2 separate regions of the Homo sapiens genome follow, and region 1 is linked to region 2. Evidence: promoter capture Hi-C in 16 types of primary human blood cells and fetal thymus (Javierre and others, 2016). All regions are on one chromosome and are shown on one strand. The core of a region is centred on a gene start or on the middle of the fragment in contact, and the rest is flanking DNA. Distances in the headings are between cores, read along the strand shown.

Region 1 (5,663 bases), core at 2,718-5,217, 430 kb before region 2:
TTCTCCTGTCAACCCTGCTGCTCATACTTCCTCAGACTTATCCTGTGTTTATACACACTATGCCTTTCCTCCCTGCTCCCCAAGCTTGGAATGTCCTTCCCCCTTCTTATGACTTTGTCAACTCATATTCATCATTTGAGATCCAGCTGAAAGGGCTCCTCCTCAGGAAAGCCATCCCTGACCACCCTAAGCAGAGCCTGCCATGCCTTCTGTTGGTCTGTCATAGCTTTTTTGTATATGTCCTCATCACTTGGTATCTCAGTGATCTGCCATCTTGTCTGTAACCCCCAGTAGATTATGTTTTTCATCTCCATGACCCTGGTAGCTAGCAAAGAGGCTAGCACAAGTAAGTATAATAAATCTTTACTGAATGAGTGTACAGATGAGTGAGAATCTTTTTCTCCCTCATGCCATCTCTGAGTCACTACTCAGTTTCTATCAAGAAGAGACACATAAGGAAACGTGGGAGGAATTGCTTTAGTCCCTTTATTCAAGGGTGATAGTCTCAGGAGAGAAGAAAACACAATCAAGTTGGGGCCACTGCAAAGTCTAGTGGCATTTAAGAGAAGTTATTTTCCCCAAAGCACTGGCAGCTTTGAACTGAGGCTGAATTTGTTTGGAAGCCAGAGCCAAGACAAGCAGACATTTGGTAGTGTTGAGCCTTCCAGCAAGCTGGGATTCTGACAGCCGTTTCTGTCAGCTGCACAAGGAGAAGCATCTAAAAGGCATCTGGGTCTACCTGGAATTGGGGGTCCCCATATCTTTTAGCACAATCTGACCCAAGGAACAAGGCAGCCGTCTCTCCTACCCTCCATTCCCACCATAAGCATATACCTCCTCTAAGGGGGCTCTGCAGTTGATTAGGACGTTGGGCACTGAGAACAGAGTCAAAGATGACTATAGGAAACTGTGGCAGAGATGATACTACTGCTTACTAAATGGCTTATGGTTTCTTCCTACATTTCCCAGCCTCCCTTGCAGTTTTTTTGTTTGTTTGTTTGTTTTTGACACAGAGTCTTGCTCTCTCGCCCAGGCTGGAGTGCAGTGGTGTAATCTCCGCTCACTGCAACCTCTACCTCCTGGGTTCAAGCGATTCTCCTGCCTCAGCCTCCTGAATAGCAGGGATTACAGGCGCCCCACCACACCCCGCTAACTTTTGTATTTTTAGAGATGGGGTTTCACCATGTTGGCCAGGCTGGTCTCGAACTCCTGACCTCAGGTGATCCACCTGCCTCGGCCTCCCAAAGTGCTAGGATTACAGGCATGAGCCACCGTGCCTGGCCTCCAGCTCTCTTTTTGAGGCAATACTGAAAGCTTTGCATTGAGATAGTGGAGCCCAAGAGAGAAGTAGTCTGGATCTCTGAGTTACCCAGGAGAGTTGAGGAGAGCTACTCTGGAGAGTGCCTTAACCCACAGCCAGCGTTGCATGAGTGGAAAAGATATACCATTGTTGTGTGTTATGCCATTGAGAAATTTGGCTTGTTTGTTACCATAGCCAAGTCTAGCCTATTCTGCCAGATAAATATAGACATTAATTGTTGTTTTAGCCATCCAGCATCAAACCTCCTTCCTATTTGAGGATTAAACTCTCCCCCTCCTTTAGGACTCTTTGGTGTTGCCAAATCCAGTGGTCACATCTCTGTTCTTATCTTTCTTGATTTCTCAGCAGCATTTGTCACAATTGACCACTCCCTTCTGGGAACATACTATGTTGGTGTCTGTGACATCATGCCTGCTTAGTTTTTCTTTTATGTCACTGGCCCCCGCTTTTCAGTTTTCTTTGTTGGCTCCCCTTCTTGTTTTATGTCAAAAGTTTGAAGTTCTGGAGACCTGGTTTAAAATATCACAGCTGGTTTCCACCTTTTGAGACGATGTCTTTTTGTGTCACCCAGGCTGGAGTGCAGTGGCATAATCACGGCTCACTGCAGTCTCAACCTCCCAGGCTCAAGCATTCCTCCCACCTCAGTCTCCCAAGTAGCGGGGACTACAGGCACACTCCATCACACCCAGATAATTTTTGTATTTTTTGTAGAGATGGGGTTTTGCCATGTTGCTCAAGCTGGTCTCAAACTCCTGGGCTTAAGAGATTCACCAGCCTAGGTCTCCCAAAGTGTTGTAATTACAGGTGCGAGCCACAGCTCCTGGCCCATCTTACCATTCCTTATTAATAACAGAGCACTCATTGTTAGCTGGGCACATTGTACCCAGTTAAGAGAATGTTTCCCAGGCTCCCTTGCAGCTGAGTATGGCCATGTGAGTGAGTATGTTTTGGCAAAAATGTGCGGGACTTTCGAGGCAGTCCTTTTTTCTTTCTTTCTTTTTCTTTTTCTTTTTTTTTTTTTTTTGAGACAGAGTCTCGCTCTGTCGCCCAGGATGGAGTGCAGCGGCGCGATCTCGGCTCACTGCAACCTCCGCCTCCTGGGTTCACGCCATTCTCCTGCCTCAGCCTCTCGAGTTGCTGGGATTACAGGCGCCCGCCACCACGCCCGGCTAATTTTTTATATTTTTAGTAGAGACGGGATTTCACTGTGTTAGCCAGGATGGTCTCCATCTCCTGACCTCGTGATCCGCCAGCCTGGGCCTCCCAAAGTGCTGGGATTACAGGCGTGAGCCTCCGCGCCCAGCCCCAAGGCAGTCTTCTTAAAAGGAAGAGGATGCATCTTTCTTCCCTTTTTCCTTCCCACTGTTTGGAATATGGACCATAGTGAGGTGACCTTAACACTGGAAGCCAAATACTGAGGATGGCTGAACAGCCCTGAACTGCCTACTTTTGGACTTATATTTCATGGAAAGAGAGAAATTTCTGGCTAGGTGCAGCGGCTCATGCCTGTAATCCCAGCACTTTGAGAGGCCAAGGCAGGAGGATCGCTTGAGCCCAGGAGCTCGAGACCAGCCTGAGCAACACAGGGAGATTTCATCTCCATGAAAAAAATAAAAATAATAGGCAGGCCTGGTGGCGCACCTGTGCTCCCAGCTACTCCAGAGGTTGGGGTGGGAGGATCGCTTAAGCTTGGGAGGTTGAGGCTTCAGTGAGCTGTGATCACGCCACTGCACTCCAACCTGGGTGACAGAGCAAAACCGTCTCAGGAAAAAAAATAAATAAATTTCAATCGTAAGCTATTTTTTTCTTTTGTTATTTGCAATTGAATGTAATCCTGATACATTCCTGTTGTTGAAGCTGTTTGCCTGCCTCCCACTAGGAAGCCTAAGGGTCCAGATCCTCCCCCAGTCAGAGGAATGGGGAACTAGAAAAAGAAAGGCAAAGGCACTGCCAGGCAAGAAAACGCTGGGTCTCCTTCCACAAGTTTGGTAAGTAAGCAAGATACCAGGAGGATAGAATGGTAAGTGAGCCTAGAAATAGACTATTATATACATAGGGTTTATTAAATACATAGAGAACACTGAATGCTAGACTAAGAAATTTGGACTTTATTCTGGAAGTCCCTTGCAATAGGGGACCTTGTCTGTTTTATTTTCTAATGCCTCGCACTTTGTAGAAGCTCAGTGAATGAATATATTCTTTATTAATTTATGCCGTCTGCTTAATAAACAGAAATGTTGGAAGGTGAACCAGTTGGGAGTCACCATCTGATCAACCCCTGCCTGCTTTTTATAAATAATGTAACTGAACCATCATTTACTGGAAGTGGCAATCAACCTGTGAGGAACGGCAAACCAAAAAGTCCACCTTGGGTGTCATGGTGATGGAATTGGAGGCGGAGACCAGGGAGAGCAGCGGGCTAGGATCTCTGAGAGTCTCCGCAACATGGCGGCCCTGGAACCACCTGACCGGCAGGAGGCGGAGCTCCGCCCCAGCTCGCTCGGCCCCACCCCGCTCGGCCCTGCCCAGCGCACTCCTAGACCGGGGCGCAAGGGTTGTGAGGTGTTTGAGCGAAGCGCCTGCGCAGGGCAGCGGCGCGCGGGGCGGAGGCTTTATAATCACTTCGTCGTTGCCGCTCGGCTTCTATCGCCGGGAGGGCGGTTGAGGCGGTGGTGGCGGCGTCGGCGGCGGCCGGGCGCTGGCTGAGGGGCGCTGAGGCGGGAGCTGTGGCGGCGCTGGGCGCCCCTGGCTCCTCGGCCTCTGCCGGCCATGGGCTCCGAGAAGGACTCCGAGTCGCCGCGCTCCACATCGCTACATGCGGCCGCACCCGACCCTAAGTGCCGCAGCGGCGGCCGGCGCCGGCGCCTCACCTTGCACAGCGTCTTCTCTGCCTCGGCCCGCGGCCGCCGCGCCCGGGCCAAGCCGCAGGCCGAGCCGCCGCCCCCGGCTGCGCAGCCGCCGCCCGCCCCGGCCCCTGCCGCGGCCCAGGGCCCGCCGCCCGAGGCGCTGCCCGCCGAGCCGGCCGCCGAGGCCGAGGCGGAGGCCGCGGCGGCGGCGGCGGAGCCTGGGTTCGACGATGAGGAGGCGGCGGAGGGCGGTGGCCCGGGCGCGGAGGAGGTGGAGTGTCCGCTGTGCCTGGTGCGGCTGCCGCCTGAGCGGGCCCCGCGCCTCCTCAGCTGTCCGCACCGCTCGTGCCGGGACTGCCTCCGCCACTACCTGCGCCTGGAGATAAGCGAGAGCAGGGTGCCCATCAGCTGCCCCGAGTGCAGCGAGCGACTCAACCCGCACGACATCCGCTTGCTGCTCGCCGACCCGCCGCTTATGCACAAGTACGAGGAGTTCATGCTGCGCCGCTACCTAGCCTCGGACCCCGACTGCCGCTGGTGCCCGGCCCCGGACTGCGGGTGAGCGCGGGGGCGTGGCGCGGGTGGCGGCGGGCTGCAGCCGAGGGGCGTGGCTGGGGGCAGCAGGGACCCCGCGTGGGTGTCCCAAGCAGGGAAACCCGCAAGGCGGCAGCTTCGGCGGGGTGGTAACCATCAGGCAAGCCCAGACTAGTGGTGTGAACGCACCCGACACCCCGCCCCCTGCCCCAGGGCTCGAGGTGGCTGCTAAGCATTCGGTGAGGGGAAGGGAGCTGTCCAAGTTAGGAGACAGGGAGAGGCGGTTTTTTTGTTGGGGGAATGCCCTCTGTCCGGAGGTGAGGACAGTATCTTTTTTTTTTTTTCTTTTTTTTTTTGGAGACGGAGTCTCGCCCTGCCGCCCAGGCTGGAGTGCAATGGCGCGATCTCGGCTCACTGCAACCTCCGCCTCTCAGGTTCAAGCGATTCTCCTGCCTCAGCCTCCCGAGTAGCTGGGATTACAGGCGCCCGCCACCACACCCGGCTAATTTCTTTGTATTTTTAGTAGAGATGGGGTTTCACCATGTTGGCTAGGCTGGTCTCGAACTCCTGACCTCAGGTGATCCTCCTGCCTCGGCCTCCCAAAGTGCTGGGATTACAGGCGTGAGCCACCGCTCCCGGCCAAGGTGGGGAGTATCTCTTAATGAGAGTGGGGAGGGGATATTTGGCCAAGGAGGGAATGAGAATATTCTGAGGGGGCAGCGCGTCGGAGGGGTGTGTCCACTTGGCTAGGGACAGACTTAGCATTGCAGAAGAAGGCGTGTTCTCCCTGACAACCACCGCTGAAAGTTGGGATGGAGGTGACTGGGGAATAGGCTCTCGGGTACCCTGAGCACTATGTGTTCTGTGCCACGCTATCGGGAGGCACTCTGTCGTTCTTACCTTGCTGCCTTGGGTAGGGTGAGGGGTAGACAGATATGTTCTTTGTCCAGAGTCTCAATGGG
Region 2 (5,637 bases), core at 1,367-3,866:
CAATAAACCTATTTTAAGTTGAAAACATTGTAAGTTTAAAATGCATTTAATACCCCATTAAACGCACTGTAAAGTCAAAAAATCGTAAGTCAAGCCATTGTAAGTCAGTGATCGTCTGTATTAAAAACATTTAAGAGCTATGGTTTGAACATTTGTGTCCCCTCCAAAATTCATGTTGAAACTTCATCCCGATTGCAACGGTATCATCTTTAGGAGGTGATTGGGCCACGAAGACTCTGCCCTCATGGATGGAATTAGTGCCCTTATAAAAGCACCTGAGGGAGTGAGTTTAGCCTCTTCTGCCCTTCCATTCCTTCTGCCACGTGAGGACACAGCAGTCCTCCCATCCAGAGGATGCAGCAACACGGTGCCATCTTGGAAGCAAAGAGCAGCCCTCACTAGACACCAAACTGCCTAAACTTCTCAGCCTCCAGAAGTGTGAGAAATAAATTTGTTCTTTATAATTACCCAGTCCCAAAGTATTTTTATAGCTGCACAAATGGCCTGAGACAGAAAAGATTTAGAATTAATAAAAACACTTAAGAGAATCAAAACTATAGTTGAGGAAAGCCTCATTGAGAAGATGGCATTTGGGTAAAGTCCAAAGGAAGTAAGAGAGTCATGTGGGTGTCTGGGGGAAGAGCATTTCAGGCAAAGGGAACGGCAAGTGCAAAGGCCCTGAGGTGAGCAGGCAAGGAGGCATGGGGGAAGCAATGGGATATGGAGTCAGAAAGGGAAAGCAGATCATGAGAGAAGTAGGACATGGTGAGACCAGGTGCTTGTAAGGCTGCATAGACTATTATGGAGCTTTTGGCTTTTAAACTGCGTAAGATGGGGAGCCACTGACCAATTTTGAGCAGAAAAGTGGCAAAAGCTTCATTCAAGGGAATCAAACACATCAAATCTTTAAATATGATTAACATATCATTGTGTCACTGAGTTAAGTCTATTACACAGTTTTATCTAAAAATTAGATTTAAATGACATACGATGAATTAAATTACTCTATCTTACAAAGTTTTTGATGGCCCCAAATCATTATCAACAGCGAAGCTGGTGATTTCAGGGCTAGGAGATAAGGGTTAGTGGTGTGGCCTCCTTCCTGGAGTCCCTACTCATTATGCCTCCTGCTGACATTTTAGAGCACAATCCACCCAGACACCCATTTGATCAAGGGCCCTAAGCCAGATTCTCACTTCCCAGTTGCCACTTGTGTGGCCAGAGAGGTTCCCAGGAATAAAGACATCTGATCCCTGCTTATCAGTGAGGGGCTCTTGCTCCAGTCTACAAACGCATCCATACCTGAGGCATGGAGGAGATAAGACTGGAGCAGAAGCTTGTTGAGGATTTTGGAGGCTTTCCTGAAAAAGATCAGTTAAGGTTTTTAGAGCAGGGAAGCGCTGTGTTAAGACTGGCCCTTCTAAAGACTCCTCTGGAGGTGCCTTAGGAGGGAAGGCAGGGCGGGAACAGGAGGCCCTGGGCGGCTATGGTCACCCTAGCCTAGAGGTGAAACGCCATGCTTCATACGTGTTCCCTCATCTGCAAAGTGGAATTACCGTCAGCCTGACTAGGTGGTTGTTTTATGTGAAATTAAGTGAAATAATTCATATAGGTGAAAGCACTCCATTTAAAGTTGTGCAACTATAAAGGTTTATCAAGCATAGAGGTGATATTGACGTGTGTGGTTAGAAGCCCACCAGGTGTGTGTGAATCTACCGCTTCCAAACGCGTCTTAGAATGATGTGGAGTAGGGCCATTGGAACAATCGGGGATACATAAGCGCATCTGAAGGGGAAGGGAACAAGCCGCTGACTAACTCACAAAAGAGGCGGTCCGCATGGGTAGAGATGAGCATGTAAGGTTCCGTCCAGAAGCAAATAGTTGGGAGCTCAACATTGGTTAGGCGCGGTGAGTTCGCCCTCGGTTCTAAGCCCAGATGTCGCATCTTGACATAAAACCAAGGATGGAGGCTGCACCGAGAAACTCGGGCTACTGCCCTGGGAGCCAGGTTCCCCGGCAGCGCCCCTGGCCGCGCCCGCAGAGACTCCGGCCCCGGCCCTGCCCTGCCCTCCCCGCGCGCCCCCGCGGCGGCCGCCCGTCTTTGCTCCGCGCAGCCCGAGCCCCTCCAGAGTCCGCGGCGCCCGACGGCTCCAGACACGCCCGGCGCCGTCCCCGCCGCCTTCCCGCCGCCGCCTCCAGGAGGCTCCGCGCGCCTTCCCGCCTTTCCCCGGGCCGGGCCGGGCGGCGAGGCGGGCGCGGGCGGCGACGGCGCGGCCATTGTCCCGCAGCCCCTCCCGGGCGCCTCCCGCCGCGCTCCCGGCCCGGGGACGTCTGGGGGAGGCGCGCCCGGGGCCCGCATCCCAGCACTGCCGCCGCCCGGGCCGTCAGAGCCCGCGGCCAGGCTCGCGGCGGGTCCCGGGCAGCCCCGACGCCCGCCCGCCCTCCGCCGGCGCCGCGTGCAGCCACTTACCGCGGGCCGCGGCGCACCGGCCGGTCGCGCGCGCGGGCCGAGGGAAGATTCCTGGTTCTCGGCTGGGGAAGGACCCCCTTTCGAGGCCGTTCCTTTGCGCCCTAAAACAAGTAGCCCCAACGTGAGAGAAACAAAAGGTATTTGCTGACGTGGGCGTTGGACAGAAACGCCCGAGGGCTGGGGACACAATTAAAGGGGCAACGCACAGATTTCAGGCACCAACCAGCAGCTTCGCCCACTCCCCCTGCCCTTGCCCACACTCGCTGCACGCTCCAGAGACACCGGGGTGCCCAGATTCTCTAGCAGTTGACTGCGGATCATGATTTTAGTCAGGAGCTGAAATTTAAAATTGTACTTTACGTTGGGAAAGGCGCCTCCGGAGGGCAGAAGGGCTGGATTTCTAGGATCTGGGGATTTGGTTTAGGAAAGAGGGAGGGACTTAGGCGTGCCCACAATTACTGTATAAGTACATGTGACATTATTGTACTTAAGTTTAGCAACGTCAAATGCAAAAGATTTCCACAGAATTTTCCCTTGTACTGAAGCAGTTATTTTAGTTGAGGATAACCTTTTCTAAACCTGTACAGGTCAGAAGCATTTCATTTGAATAGGAAAACCCAGAGAGGCTGAGATAAGAGAACATAATTCTTAGTTAAGTCCAGAGAAATATAAAATTAGTAAAAATAGCAAGTTGCGTCTTTTCCAATGCAAGCATTCATCGTACACCAAGCTTCCTCTGACAAATTTACGTCTCTAATATTTAGAGTACAGATATCAGGTTATACATTTGCTAAAATAGTAAATCAATGGATTTTCACTGTTACTGTAGAAGCATTACTTCTATAAATTAGTTTTCTAGTTCCTTATGCTGGGGTCAGGTACTGAAAAGTACTGTGTTATAGTAAAACTGGAGGGAAAAGGTTCAAATTATCAAAACTTGCGTTTAGCTTTTAATGGATTCCTCTCCTGTTCAAAATCATTCATATTGGACAGTTTGTAACTTTGATTTCAGGAATAATTAGCTATGCATTTTGAGGATACAAGATATTCACAATTGTCTCAATGTCACTTCTGTGTCACTGCAGAGGTGCTTTGCTATTTAGTTGCATTTCCTCACCTTCTGAACAGGTAAGTAGAAACATATTTGAAAACCATTAGGTGTCTGGTGTGTTGGATGTACTCAGATTACTCTGCTAGCGCCCCCATTGAGAATTCCCCCAGAAAGACCTGGACATGGTTTTAGCCAAAGGTTTTATTTTAGCCTTAGTTAATTAAAACATGCAAAAGAGTTCCACAAACATATTCCTCAAGAGAGCACATCAGGTTGGTGATAAACTCTTTGTTGAGGCCGGGTGTGGTGGCTCACACCTATAATCTCAGCACTTTGGGAGGCCGAGGTGGGCGGATCACGAGGTCAGGAGGTTGAGACCAGCCTGGCCAACATGGTGAAACCCCATCTCTACTTAAAATACAAAAATTAGCTGGGCATGGTGGTGCGCGCCTGTAATCCCAGCTACTGGGGCAGCTGAACCAGGAGAATGGCTTGAACACAGGAGGTGGAGTTTGCAGTGAGCCAAGATCGTGCCACTGCACTCCAGCCTGGGTGACGGAGCAAGACTCCATTTCAAAAACAAAAACAAAAACAACAAACAAAAATAACCTCTTTGTTGCAAGGAAGAGGTAATGAGAGTTTTGTCCCTCACCTTCATTCTCCTAGCTTTGGGAGCACGTTTCTGTATGCTAGAGCTCCACCATTAACCAGTGCTAGTCTCTTAAACTCTGTCTCCCACCCCACCCAACCCCCATCCCTGTTTCCACCTATTCAGTTCAAATCTTGAGGAAGATAATCCATTCCTTTTTTTTTTTTTTTTTTTTTTTTTTTTTGGAGACGGAGTCTTGCTCTGTCACCCAGGCTGGAGTGCAATGATGCAATCTCGGCTCACTGCAACCTCCGCCTCCCAGGTTCAAGCAATTCTCTGCCTCAGCCTCCAGAGTAGCTGGGATTACAGGTGCCCGCCACCACGCCTGGCTAATTTTTGTATTTTTAGTAGGGACAGGGTTTCACCAGGTTGCCAGGCTGGTCTTGAACTCCTGACTTCGTGATCCAGCCTCATTGGCCTCCCAAAGTGCTGGGATTACAGGCATGAGCTACCGCACCTGGTCCCATTCCAATTTTAACAGTGCCTGCTAAGGGTAAAGTTTTTGCTCTAGGCTCTTGGAATGCAGTGGTGAGCAAAAAATTCACCAAGTCCCTGCTTTTATGGGATTTGCAGTCTAGTGGGGGAGACAGATGGTAATCAAATAAATGTATAATTTGAAAATTGGATAAGTCTGAAGGAAAGGTATGTCGTGTGATGAGAATATTGATGAAGTGGGGACCCGTCTCATGAGGGAGAGGGTTTGTGTAAGGAGGACTTCCTTGAGGAGGTTATCTTGACTGGAAATCTGGAGTAGGAATTAACAGGCAAGCGTGTGAGTGGTCAGGAGCATTCCAGATAGAAGGAGCAAAATGGTGCTTGGTAGATGGGAATATAGCCTGAAAGGCTGATGAGACTGGAGTGCAACGTGAGGGAGAGAGACAAGAGATAAGATGGGAGAGGGAGGCAGGGGTCAGACCATCAGGGCCTTGTCGGGCCAGGTTAAGAACTTTGGGAGCCATTAATGTGTTTTAAGCTGCATGGGGTGTGTGTGCTATGATGAGGTAAGCATTTTGAAAAGATGACTGTGGAAGATAAATTAGAGGGAAGGAAGAGTGGATCACAGTGGCCCAGCTAAGAGATGGTAGAATCTTGAACTAGAGTGGAGGTAGATAGAAGTGGGGAGATCAAGTGAGGTGGAGAGTTAAATATTAGAGATAATAGTTTGACTCTGAGAAATGAGGGAGAAGGAGGAGTCAAAGACAACTCCCAGCCTTTTGGAACTGGACAGATGGTGGTTCTGTTCACTGAGAGAGAGAGGACTAGAAGGGCAGGATTTTTAAAATTTTTAAATTAAAAAAAAATTCCTACTTGAACCCAGGAGGTGGAGGTTGCAGAGAGCTGAGATCATGCCACTGTACTCCGGCCTGGGCAACAGAGTGAGACTCCGTCTGAAAAAAAAAAAAAAAAGAAAAGAAAAAAGAAATTTCATCATCAAAGTCATATAGGTGGGATGGGAATTAAAACCAT

Evidence for each region. The method cuts DNA at HindIII sites, captures the fragments that hold promoters and counts their contacts. A CHiCAGO score of 5 or more calls a contact.
Region 1: a contact is called between the fragment with the promoter of RNF19B here and the fragment with the promoter of ZBTB8A in region 2, in 2 of 17 cell types (fetal thymus and erythroblasts). The highest score is 10.1, in fetal thymus.

The regions. Positions count from the first base shown.
Region 1 is chr1:32,963,113-32,968,775 of GRCh38, reverse strand. RNF19B (ring finger protein 19B) reads left to right here and starts at 3,967. Exons shown (of 9, transcript NM_001300826.2): 1 at 3,967-4,725. The coding sequence starts at 4,091. RefSeq lists silencers at 3,683-4,252, 4,613-4,822 and an enhancer at 3,868-4,372. The HindIII fragment of the contact is 3,974 bases long and covers 3,012-5,663 here.
Region 2 is chr1:32,536,406-32,542,042 of GRCh38, reverse strand. ZBTB8A (zinc finger and BTB domain containing 8A) reads right to left here and starts at 2,616. Exons shown (of 5, transcript NM_001040441.3): 1 at 2,471-2,616. LOC124903952 (a long non-coding RNA gene) reads left to right here. Exons shown (of 2, transcript XR_007065669.1): 2 at 214-467. RefSeq lists a silencer at 1,884-2,253. The HindIII fragment of the contact is 1,864 bases long and covers 1,339-3,202 here.